3 separate regions of the Homo sapiens genome follow, and regions 1 and 2 are each linked to region 3. Evidence: promoter capture Hi-C in 16 types of primary human blood cells and fetal thymus (Javierre and others, 2016). All regions are on one chromosome and are shown on one strand. The core of a region is centred on a gene start or on the middle of the fragment in contact, and the rest is flanking DNA. Distances in the headings are between cores, read along the strand shown. Region 1 holds the start of CFAP107 (cilia and flagella associated protein 107). Region 2 holds the start of PRAMEF12 (PRAME family member 12). Region 3 holds the start of PDPN (podoplanin).

Region 1 (3,664 bases), core at 1,067-3,566, 840 kb before region 3:
GTATCACCAATAAAGCTGTCCTGCTATTCAGCCACCCTGGTGGTCTTTCGGATGACGATCATGTACAAAACAGTCATAGCAGCCATGTCTATGTGCAACATGGGTGAATCTTAAACACATTAACAATATTGGGGAAAACAAGCTAGACTTGAGTAAATACATACGATAGGATTCCATTTATATGTAGTCCACAAACACGCAAAGCTAAACATTATTGTTTAGGAAAGATGTATGTTACATACATGTTTTTCCATTGTGTATGTGCTCAGTTCCACTCATAAGTATGTATAGCTTCCCCCCAAACCTGCTGAATATATATAAACACAGGCCTTGTGAAGCATGAAACCCAACCTGTCCTTCCTCTCTTGGAAGAGAGAGTACCTCTGATCCATGCTGGAGACTGTCTCTCTGTGCAGTTTGCAAACTGCTATCGCCATTAAAGCTCTTCTTTTTACTATTTAGCCATGCTGGTGGTCTTTCCAATGACTGTCATGTATAAAACAGTCACAGCAACCATGGTTACATGCAAAATGCGTGAATCTTAAAAATATTAACCCCACTGGGGAAATCAGACTCATTGCATACTATAGGATTGAAACTATATGAAAGTCCCCAAACAGGCAAAACTGAACATTATTGTTTAAGAGCATACTTTGGCAGTAAGCATATAAAGAAAAGCAAGGAAGTGATTGCTATAGAAGTCAAGAGAGTGGTTTCCTTTAGGGGAGGAATGGGTTGTGAGTGGGAGGGACATGTGGAGTACTTTGGGCGTGCTGGCGATATTTTATTTCTTGACCAGCTCAGTGTTTTTTGTGGGGTTTTGCTATTCCATAATTCATTTATCTGTACATTTATTTTTAACGTACTTTTTGATATTTGTGTTTTATGCGACAATAAAAGGTTTTGAAAATTGAATTATACCGCGCTAGGTGTGGTGGCTCATGCCTGTAATCCCAGAACTTTGGGAGGCCGAGGCGGGCGGATCACGAGGTCAGGAGATTGAGACCATCCTGGCTAACACGGTGAAACCTCGTCTCTACTAAAAATACAAAAAATTAGCTGGGCGTGGTGGCAGGCGCCTGTAGTCCCAGCTACTTGGGAGGATGAGGCAGGAGAATGGCGTGAACCTGGGAGGCAGAGCTTGCAGTGAGCCGAGATCATCCCACTGCACTCCAGCCTGGGCGACGGAGCGAGACTCTGTCTCAAAAAAAAAAAAAAATTAAATTATACCGAACGCATGCCTCCTCTGCATGTTAATTGGAAGGACACCTCCTCTTCCTAGCTCCAGCCCTGCCCCAACTGTGGTCTCTGCTAAATAAAGGTTTATTCTAACCTGCAGAACATCTTTCATGGTCATTTCCTGCCTCAGGCTTAGTTTCAAGATGGAACACATAGTTTCCTGGAGTTCCTCTATTTTTGTTTGAAGGCCATTGGAAACTTTCTCTGAATTGCCTAGCGAAATCCAGCCTCTTCACTTTTAGCAAGCAATACTATAGCACACAGAGTTTTGTTTAGTTAACCACATGTTATAGGCATCTTTTAAAGTCAGCCTTTAAAACTCTTGCAGAGGATTTCATCATCTGGATGTATTACAGTTTATTGAACAAGCCCTCTGCTGATGGATATCTTGGTGCTTTTTGACTTTTTTTTTTTCCTAATGAATGAGCAAGACAAAGGCCCTTATCTCATTGGACTGAGCTCTGTGGGGATGGTGCCCAGGTCTAATTGCTAATGCATTGCAGCTGTAGCTAAGCACCTGGCATAGAATGGGAAATGATTGTGGAATGAATGAATGAAGACTGAGCAAATGAAGCATATTATACCAGTGTGAGCACAAAGACAGAATTCTTTGTGCAAGCCCCTACAAAGTAGCAGATAGGAAATGAATGGAGCCCACTGGTTTAGGTCTGAACCAGCGTGGATTTAAATCCCATCACAACTGCATGATGTTAGGCAGCTACTTAATCTCTTTGCTTCAGTGTCCTCATCTGTAAAATGGGTATAATAATGGCATCTGCGTCAGAGGGCTGCTGTGAGGATTAAACAGGTGAATAAATGTGCATAAATGTCTTTGCTTGGAGCAAGCACATCAACATTCATTAAATAGTAGCAGACTTTAACTCACCCCAAATGTGAAAGTGTAGCAAGGATGATACTAGTATTGTGGTGAGAACACAGAAACCAGGTTCTTCTGGCGACTGCTTTTGTGGTGTGGTGGTTGGTTTGATTTGTTTCTGTGAGGTCAATTTTGCTTCTGCAGAATCAGCTGTTCTCTTACAGAGAGTATTTATACTCAGAGTCTGTCACCATGGAGACAGTCAACAGTAGAGAATCCAAGATAGATCAACTCTCCCTAAAGGCTGACAGTGAACTCTTGGGGCCGTTTTATTCTCTGAGGTTAGCAAGGAGTCATCTACTAGCCATTCAGGAGGCCAGCTGGGAAGACAAAATAGGCACCCCAAACTCAGCAACTTCATAACACCTTCCTCTCCCCGCCTGAAGCCTTAAACTGCATCAAGTCAAAGAAACCTGGGGCAAATCCTTAACATGTTTTTGACTGCAGTAAATCCACAGCCACTCTCTACTCCGAGCTGGCAGATTGAGACCAAGTATTCAACGAAAGTGCTCACTGGAAATTGGATGGAAGAGAGGAGAAAGGTAAGGAAACGAGAGAGGTTGGAGAGAGGGCTCAGAGGGACTGATGGGGAGAGGCAGGAGTGAAGTTCATCACTATTTTCAAATGGAGGGCAGCAGATGATTGCATCTTAAAAATGTGGCATTGGGGTCTCTGTGCTCTACAAAGGATAGTTACATTCAAGCAATCATCAATATTCACGCATTTTGCATGGTTTCTATGACTGTTTCATACATGATGGTTATCGAAAAGACCACTGACACTCTCTTACAGATATAACAGGGGCATTGAAAATACTGTAACAGGGTGTCAATATAGTCGTGCCTCTCAGCACTCTTCTCAGTGAAGTGTTTCTAGGCATCTGGATGTTTTCTGTCCTTAATTCCTTTGTACCTTAATTTGAAGAACATTTGCTCTCCTCATTCTGGCCCTTCCCAGAATATGGTATCTCCTGAGGCCAGCTTGCCACTCTCTGTGCTGATGTCCAGGGATTTGCTGCTGCTCTCTGGCACCTTTCCACAATCCTGCCCTACTAATGCATTTCAATTTTTACTTTTTTTTTTTTTTGAGACAGAGTCTCGCTCTGTTGCCCAGGCTAGAGTGCAGTGGCATGATCTCGGTTCACTGCAACCTTCACCTCCCAGGCTCAAGCGATTCTCTTGCCTCAGCCTCCCAAGTAGCTGGGACTACAAGTGCATGCCACCATGCCCAGCTAATTTTTTGTATTTTTAGTAGAGATGGGGCTTCACCATGTTGGCCAGGCTGGTCTTGAACTCCTGAGCTCAAGTGATGTGCCGACCTTGGCTTCCCCAAGTGCTGGGGTTACAGGCATGAGCCACTGTGCCTGGCCTCAATTTTTGCTTTCAAACAGAACAATTTGGCTCTTGGTTTTCCACTGTGTTTTAAAGGTCTTTGGAAAATACTTTGCCTGAGTTGGCAAAGTTTCAAGTTGGCATACTTGAAATTGAATATCTTCATTTGTGTTTGGCAAGACTGAGCCACTTAAAGCTTTTCAGAGACATCTAGACT
Region 2 (3,583 bases), core at 498-2,997, 810 kb before region 3:
CAAAACATCAGAAGAATCACGGTGTGATTCTGCCCAGGATGGGAGCCACCCCTAAGCTTACAAAGCTTGCAGCGTGATACGGAGCTCTGGGTTTTGTGGGGAAATGTACTAGGATGTGTGCACTGTGCTTAAAGAGAGAAAAACTGAGTTCTCTTATTTTCTTTGTTTCTCTTTTTTTTTTTTTTGGGACAAGGTCTCACTCTGTTGGGTTTCCCTCTGTTGAGACAAGGTCTCAAGGCTGGAGTGCAGCAGCACGATCATGGCTCACTGCAGTACTGACCTCCTGGGCTCAGGGAATCCTCCCATCTCTGCTTATGGGGTCACTGGGAATACAGGTGCACATGACCATGTCTAGGTAGATTTTTTTTTTTTTACAGAGACAGTGTTTCACCATGTTACCCAGGCAGGTCTCAAACTCCTGGACTCCAGTGACCACCGTGCCTGGCCTGAGTTTTCTTCATATGCCTAATGTTGTTGTTCTGATCAGAATCTCTATGTTCAATATTAGGGACAAGAGAGGACTTTAAGGATGAGAAAACATTAATGATCAAAATATACCTGGAAAGGGGCCGATGGGATTGATGAGGATGAAGGGCCCTGGGAAATGCCTGGACCTGAGGGTTGCTGGGAAATGTTCCACTGTGGGAAGATCCCTGAGTCTAAAGGAAAGATTTCCAGACCATAGCGCCATGACAGGGAGACACGGACCCTTGTGCATTTCTCCCCCATGTCCTGCAGAGCCCACAGCTTCCACCCTCTGTGGCTTCCAGCTTGGGGGAGTCTCCCTTCTTAGGCCTGGCCACTGTGCTTCTGTCTGGCCTCTGTCCCAGCTCACATTCTCAGATTCAATCTCCCGAAGCTGGTTTTCTGAGGGGTGCCCATCATTTTTGTGAGTAAACACGCTTTACCTTCTAGAGGTGACCAAGACTGTATCTCGTCCCATGCCCTCAAAGGCAATATTGTGTTTTGAGTCTACAGTGTCTCTTTTGTAATTATTTCCTTTTCAGTTTTTGAATTCAATCTAAATGGAGTCTTTCAATCCTTCCGTCTCCTCTCCCACAAAATACCCACCATGTTTTATGCTGTCTTGGTTCCTTCCCAGGGTCCCATTAGAACACCCGGTCCCATCCTGCCCAGCCCCCACCTCACTTTGTAATTTTGGTTTAATTTCCTCCGGAGAAGCCTGAACCTTCGTCTTGAGATCAATCACACCCTCAGTGGTTCCCCTCTGCCACCTGAATGGGCATATGATCTACCATGTTAGAAAGCGTAAATCCCAGCTGACCACTGGATACGCAGAGATATTTATTCTGCTTTCTTAGGGATGAAATTACTGTCTTCTTAGAGCTGTTTTAGCTCTGAGACATTTTGATAATGTTTATGTGGCCAAAGATCCCCCAGCAAAGATACCTTCAGGTTTTGTTTTTTCTGTCAAATGCCAGAAACAGATTCAACCCTTTCCTGCATCACTATGAAGCTCTCATGTCAGTCAAACTCCATCAGTGTTTGTGGAATAAAGGAATGAATGAGTTGTGGACTTTCACCCTATTATTTATATCTTTCACTTTCATAAACGTATATCTGATCCAATCAATTAATCAGAAGAAAGTCGCAAACTCAATCAGGATTAACTGGGTGGAACTTCAGAATCTAATCAGACATCATTTTCTGATTGGAAGTTGGTTGTTGAGATGGGGAGGGTGTGGTTAGAAAGGTCCATAAAAGCTCCCGAAGGTGCACAGGAGAGAATCCAAGGCGCTGACACCTGGAGCTACTGCTCGGTTCTCTGAGAGGTTGCAGCACCCTGCAAACTGAGTCCAGATCTGGTAAGTCACCACCTCCTTAGGGTCATGCCCATCTGATCTGCAGCCAGCCAGCCAGTCAGGGATGGTGACATGCAGCCCAAGGTGGCAGAGAGAATTTTCTTGTCTGTTTTCAGAAGAACAAATTTAGGCTTTGATTTTTCCTCTAAATGTAGTTTTGTCTTCATCCCCCAAAATTGGATTTGTGCTTGGTTTTTGTCATTTCAAAATTCTTATTGAAGCAGTTTTTTTTTTAACAAGAGATATTAAAAAGTTACAACTGGTTGAATTTTTATTTCGTGACATTTGAAATAATTGGTTTTTGTGCCCTTAAATTATAGTTCATAGACTTGGTGGCATCGTGATTTTACATGTTAGGCCTTAGTTTTTACTAATACCTTAAAGATATTCCATAGGCCATTCTCAAGAGTGGAGTCTTTGTTCTGAACATGGGACCCATTTTTTTCCCCTAGATTCCATCCCAAAGTGGGTCATTGTGAGTCTGTGTAAGAGATCAACATTGGAACCTTCATCTGAGAGTTAGTGTTTTTATCCCTAACTTTCACAGGCTCTAGAACACTGTCATGCTGTTTTTACAATTTCTTGTTACAATTTTTCAAAATAAAAAATAATGGCGCTGATTCCAAGGAGTCCCTTTAGTCTTCTGCAAGCATGTCAATTGTGGGAACTGAGAATGTAGGCTGTGTGGGGCCACAGGACATTCTCGTTCCCATTGTTTTAGGGTGGTAAGTGACAAGAAATATTTTCTCAAAAAGGTGGAGCTTAGCTTTCAGGATCCTCAGCAACGCTTCCCAGTGTTACTGAGATTTAGTGCAGCAATGGTTGAAAATGAATGGGCCAGTGGTTACCTTGCCCTCTCCTCATTGTTTGGAAGACATTCTTTATGGTACCAGCAAGGGCAGAATTACAGATTTGTGTCCAGAAAGTGCAGAGTGGAATTGGGGTGAACTAATTACCTTTCCACCTCTACCAGAGCAATGACATTGGCACTAGGAGATGATGAAGTGATGTGATTTGCCGTAAGAATGATGTTTTTTTCTCTAGATTCATCAGGATGAGCCTCCAGGCCCCACCTAGACTCCTGGAGCTGGCTGAGCAGAGTCTGCTGAGAGACCGGGCCTTGGCCATCCCCACCCTGGAGGAGCTGCCCAGGGAGCTCTTTCCCCCACTGTTCATGGAGGCCTTTACCAGGAGATGCTGCGAGACCCTGACAACTATGGTGCAGGCCTGGCCCTTCACCTGCCTTCCTCTAGGGTCCCTGATGAAGTCATGTAATCTAGAGATCTTTCGAGCTGTGCTGGAGGGGCTTGATGCACTGCTTGCCCAGAAGGTTCGCCCCAGGTGAGGTGACCCAGCTAACCAGGTGGGGAGGGCTCAGGCATCCAGGGTAGGGTTAGCTGGGTCAGAAGGAGTGGGAGGCCCAAGGGTGGCCCAGAGACTTCTGATGGGGCTGGGGAGGAAGCTCAGAGAGGCCTTGGCCATTGTCCAGCTCCTCTGGGAAAGGACTGCTCACCATGCAGGGTCCACTGAAGGATCAGGAACCTGCCTCCTGCCAGTGGCAATTGAAGACACTAGCAGTGGGGACCAGGCAGGTTTCAAGGAGAAAGAGGGATGGAGAAAAGACAGAGAGTGGGAGAAGCAGCAGGGAGGAGAGTCGCTGATGTCCGGGATGTGGATAAAAGCTCAAATCCTTCCTAAATTTGGAGCCTCTCTTCTCTTTTACCCACAGGCGGTGGAAACTTCAAGTGTTGGACTTGCGG
Region 3 (3,596 bases), core at 374-2,873:
TTTTGAATAAAGCGGGCCATCTTTCTTTCTGTGTGTGACCTTGGAGTTACACATAAGCAGAATAGATGTGCATCTATTCTCCATCTAACAGGCTCAACAGACAATGCACTATTCCTCCTGTCAACAGACATTATTGACACTAGAGTCATAAAATGCATCTCCAAGATGGGGAAGTCAGTTCAAGAAAGAGTATCTGTATCACGAGTTTTCTCTTTACATTTCCAACTCCTTGGCTCTAGGGGTGTTGCCGCTACCCCTCATCTTCTAGGTTCAGGTGCTCAGCTCCTGTTTGTAGCCCCAGGACAAGACGTTACCTGGGAGATCTTTAGAAATGCAGAATCTCTCCCTATCCCACAACAGAATTGCACCTGCATAACCAGTGCCCCAGGTAGATCTGGCTGAGAAGCTATGATGAAGGGCAAGGTTTGCCAAATGTTCATGGGGACAAGTTCTCCAGCGACACTGGTTTAAAATAGGAATTCCGAAAAGGTCTGATTAATGAGTTTGGGGTGGAACCCAGGAAACTGGGCATTTATTTAAAACAATCTCTCCTGTGATTCTTAGAAAGTAAATTTATAATGGGGAGGGGTCAAAGATAAGCATCTGAAAACAATTTTCACGCAATGTGGAGCTTTGAGACAGCGTTAGTCTTCAGGTTCTTTTGTTGAATGGAATTTGTGGCATCTGGGAGTGGAGCAGAGACCACTTCCCAAACTCCTGTTCTTATTTTTTTAAATTCCAGCAATTCAGAAGGAATTAAAGTAAAAGACGTAAGTTCTCTGGTTGCTGATATCTGGTACCTGAGATCAAGGCAAGATCGCTTAAACCAGTAAAGTGAGGATTATGGGAGCAAACTCAGGAATAAAGAGGGTGAACCAGGCCTGGAAGGGGACACAGGTTTGGCGACCAGACGGGTCACCGCTTGGCCCGGCCTAATCCAACTGCGCACGTCGGTGGGCCACAGCATCGCAGCGCTGGATCCCCGGGTCGGCAGAGGCGGATGGAGTTCAGCCTCTTTTTCAAAACTGCCAAAGCCACCCGGTCTGCCAAACTCCCCCACCAGCCAGCTCTGGGGCAGCCCCCCGGAGCCCGCCCGCTCCGGTCCCCGGGACAAGGGCGCAATTGACCAGCGCGGGCCGCCTCTGGCCCACCCAGATGACGGCCAACTTTTTTTGTTTTTAAGCCATCAAATTCAATATTTACAGGAAAAACCCCATGCTTGGTTCTAAAACTACTGGCCACTCAAGAAACAGTTTACTTCTCACTTCTGCCCATAACAAGAAAAACATAGACTTGTGCCTTACTCTTAAAAAAATAATAATAATAAATATAGGTTTTTTAAAATTTATATATAATTTTTAAAACCCCGTTTGTTGCATGTGGTCCCTTTCCCTCCTGTTGTTGAGCAGAATAAAAGCCCATTTTGCCAGGGCCCGCAGTCCTGGCGGCCCCCGCAGCTGCGGCCCTGTAACTTTAAACCTGGCCTGAGATCATCGTTTTGGCGCCGGCCAAACAGAGCCCGAGGGCGGGCCTAGCGCGCCCGGACGGAGACCACCTTGCGGCCGACCCCGCTCCCCCGCCTCCTCGGGAGAGATAAATGCTGACTCCGCTCGGAAAGTTCTCAACTGCAAAGTTTGCTGTCCGGCTGCCTAGGGTCTGGGAAGCTCGGGCACCCTCCCTCTCCGGGGCTCCTGCTCCCACCCCTCCGGCCCCCCCACCGTCGCGCTCCTCCAGGCTGGGCCTGTGGCCGCGGTGCTTTTTAATTTTCCCCCAGCTCAGAATCTTGCTGCTCGGCCCCCAGGAGAGCAACAACTCAACGGGAACGATGTGGAAGGTGTCAGCTCTGCTCTTCGTTTTGGGAAGCGCGTCGCTCTGGGTCCTGGCAGAAGGAGGTAAGACCCAGCGCAAGTGGCTTCCTGCCGTCGCTGATGGGGACGAGCGAGCAGAGACTTGCTGGAATGCCCGGGCCTGGTATTCGAGGTTGTCCAGGGGAGCGCGGGGGAGCTGAGGGTGTGTGCGTGTCAGGCGGCTGAGCGCCGGAGGAGGAGAGGCAGCGGCTTAGTCGGTGCCAGGTCCCAAAGACGCAGCTGCGCGGGTGTGCCGGGAGGAGCCCCGGAATCCACAGGCTGCGAGGTGGGCAGCACAGGGGGCCTCCCTCCGAGTCGGCAGCACCAGAGAGATCGGGTGGAAGGTTCACAGTAGGCAGCCCCGCTTGCTGGCAGCAGTGGCTGGGGTTTCCTTCCCATAGAGCGGTGTGTTGGAGGAATACGCACGCCTCGGGAGAAGCTGGCCTCGTAGAATCAGGAGGGACGTTCAGGAGGGCTTGGGCCAAGGGGAGGGTTCCCCGCCCTGCGGTGGCCCTGGTCCCCCTTGGGACTACCTAGTCTGGCGCCCTGCCTGTTGGACACACTCAGCACCCCGTCACTGGACTGGAAGAGGCCTCCTTTATCCTCTTTAGAGAGGATAGTGTGTGTGGAAAGGATCCAAGTGGAGGCTTCCGAGGAGTGTGAGTGCATGAGGATTGTTACGCGTTACGAACATTGAGGTTTAAGTGGGTTTGAGCCACGTGTTCATCTTGGGCAACAACATCAGTGGCTGAATGTCTGTTGGTGACTCCTTAGGCTTTAAATATTTTGTATCCCATGTTGGGGTGGGGGCGTCCACAGCTTCCATTACCCTTTGTCCTCTCCTGGAGCCTTACCTCTTCCCGCTGGGTTGCTGTGTTGGTGGTCTCCATTGACATCTGTCAACATTTTGTTTTCTTTTCTTGGGTTTTTATTTTTATATTTCCTCAATAGAACATATGTTCTGCAGGACGCAGCTACATCCAGCCATGATTCCCCACGGCCAAAACAATGCCTGGCACATAGTAGTTGCTCACTAAATGTTGGTTGAAGGAATTGTAACCTAACTCGTGATCTTTGGGGCTGGAGGTTGCTGAGTTATGCTGTGAAAAGTAAACATTTTCCAAAAATTGAGGATCAAGGTAGGCCTAGGCCCTGAGGAATACTTCTTGGAGAGGGAGCGGTTTGCAGGAGGGGTGCGCCTAACCTGGCCTCCTACAATGGTCCACACAGACAAAAATACCCAATCTCAGGGAAATGACAGAGTTCTGCTCTATGCTGTGCTGTCTGCTTCAAAGGGACTGAGCAACTCTTTTTATAGGGGCCGTGGGTTATTCGTAGCAGTCCTATCTTTGGAACTTCTCTTTCCACTGGAATATATACAGTTCTGTATTTTCAGTTACATTTCCTTTTTGGCGAGACAATGTGCAAATGACACCGTTTTGTGCTCACCAGGGCAAAGCAAGGGAGCGCCCTCACTTCAGCATCTCAGCCCTGCTAAAGAAAAAGCTGCTGGGTAACATCCTTTGTTTTTGCCCAGGGAAGCTTTAGCTGTGATTCCCTTCAGCCGGCTCCTGAATGTCAAAGGTACTCCTAAAAGATGGCGTTAAAACCGAAAAACCATCGTTGGTGCTGGAAACTCCACTACTAAAGAAAGAAGTGGTATGCGGGGCTGGCTGAGTGAGGGTGGGTGCTGAGTTGCCTGGCTGCCAGAGGAGCAGAGGCCCAGCAGGGTTTTTGTCTGAGAATAAT

What was found. Contacts are between HindIII fragments. The CHiCAGO score rates a contact against its expected background, and 5 or more counts as called.
Region 1: a contact is called between the fragment with the promoter of CFAP107 here and the fragment with the promoter of PDPN in region 3, in 2 of 17 cell types (erythroblasts and megakaryocytes). The highest score is 6.5, in erythroblasts.
Region 2: the fragment with the promoter of PRAMEF12 here is called in contact with the fragment with the promoter of PDPN in region 3 in 4 of 17 cell types (endothelial precursors, M2 macrophages, M1 macrophages and 1 more); the score reaches 7.8 in endothelial precursors.

Annotation. Positions count from the first base shown.
Region 1 is chr1:12,743,884-12,747,547 of GRCh38, forward strand. It overlaps CFAP107 (cilia and flagella associated protein 107), which reads left to right and starts at 2,317. Exons shown (of 4, transcript NM_152290.4): 1 at 2,317-2,658. The coding sequence starts at 2,548. The HindIII fragment of the contact is 5,629 bases long and covers 1-3,641 here.
Region 2 is chr1:12,771,991-12,775,573 of GRCh38, forward strand. It overlaps PRAMEF12 (PRAME family member 12), which reads left to right and starts at 1,748. Exons shown (of 3, transcript NM_001080830.5): 1 at 1,748-3,164; 2 at 3,553-3,583. The coding sequence starts at 2,878. The HindIII fragment of the contact is 4,010 bases long and covers 64-3,583 here.
Region 3 is chr1:13,582,209-13,585,804 of GRCh38, forward strand. It overlaps PDPN (podoplanin), which reads left to right and starts at 1,624. Exons shown (of 6, transcript NM_006474.5): 1 at 1,624-1,892. The coding sequence starts at 1,826. RefSeq lists an enhancer at 1,527-2,065. The HindIII fragment of the contact is 6,524 bases long and covers 1-3,387 here.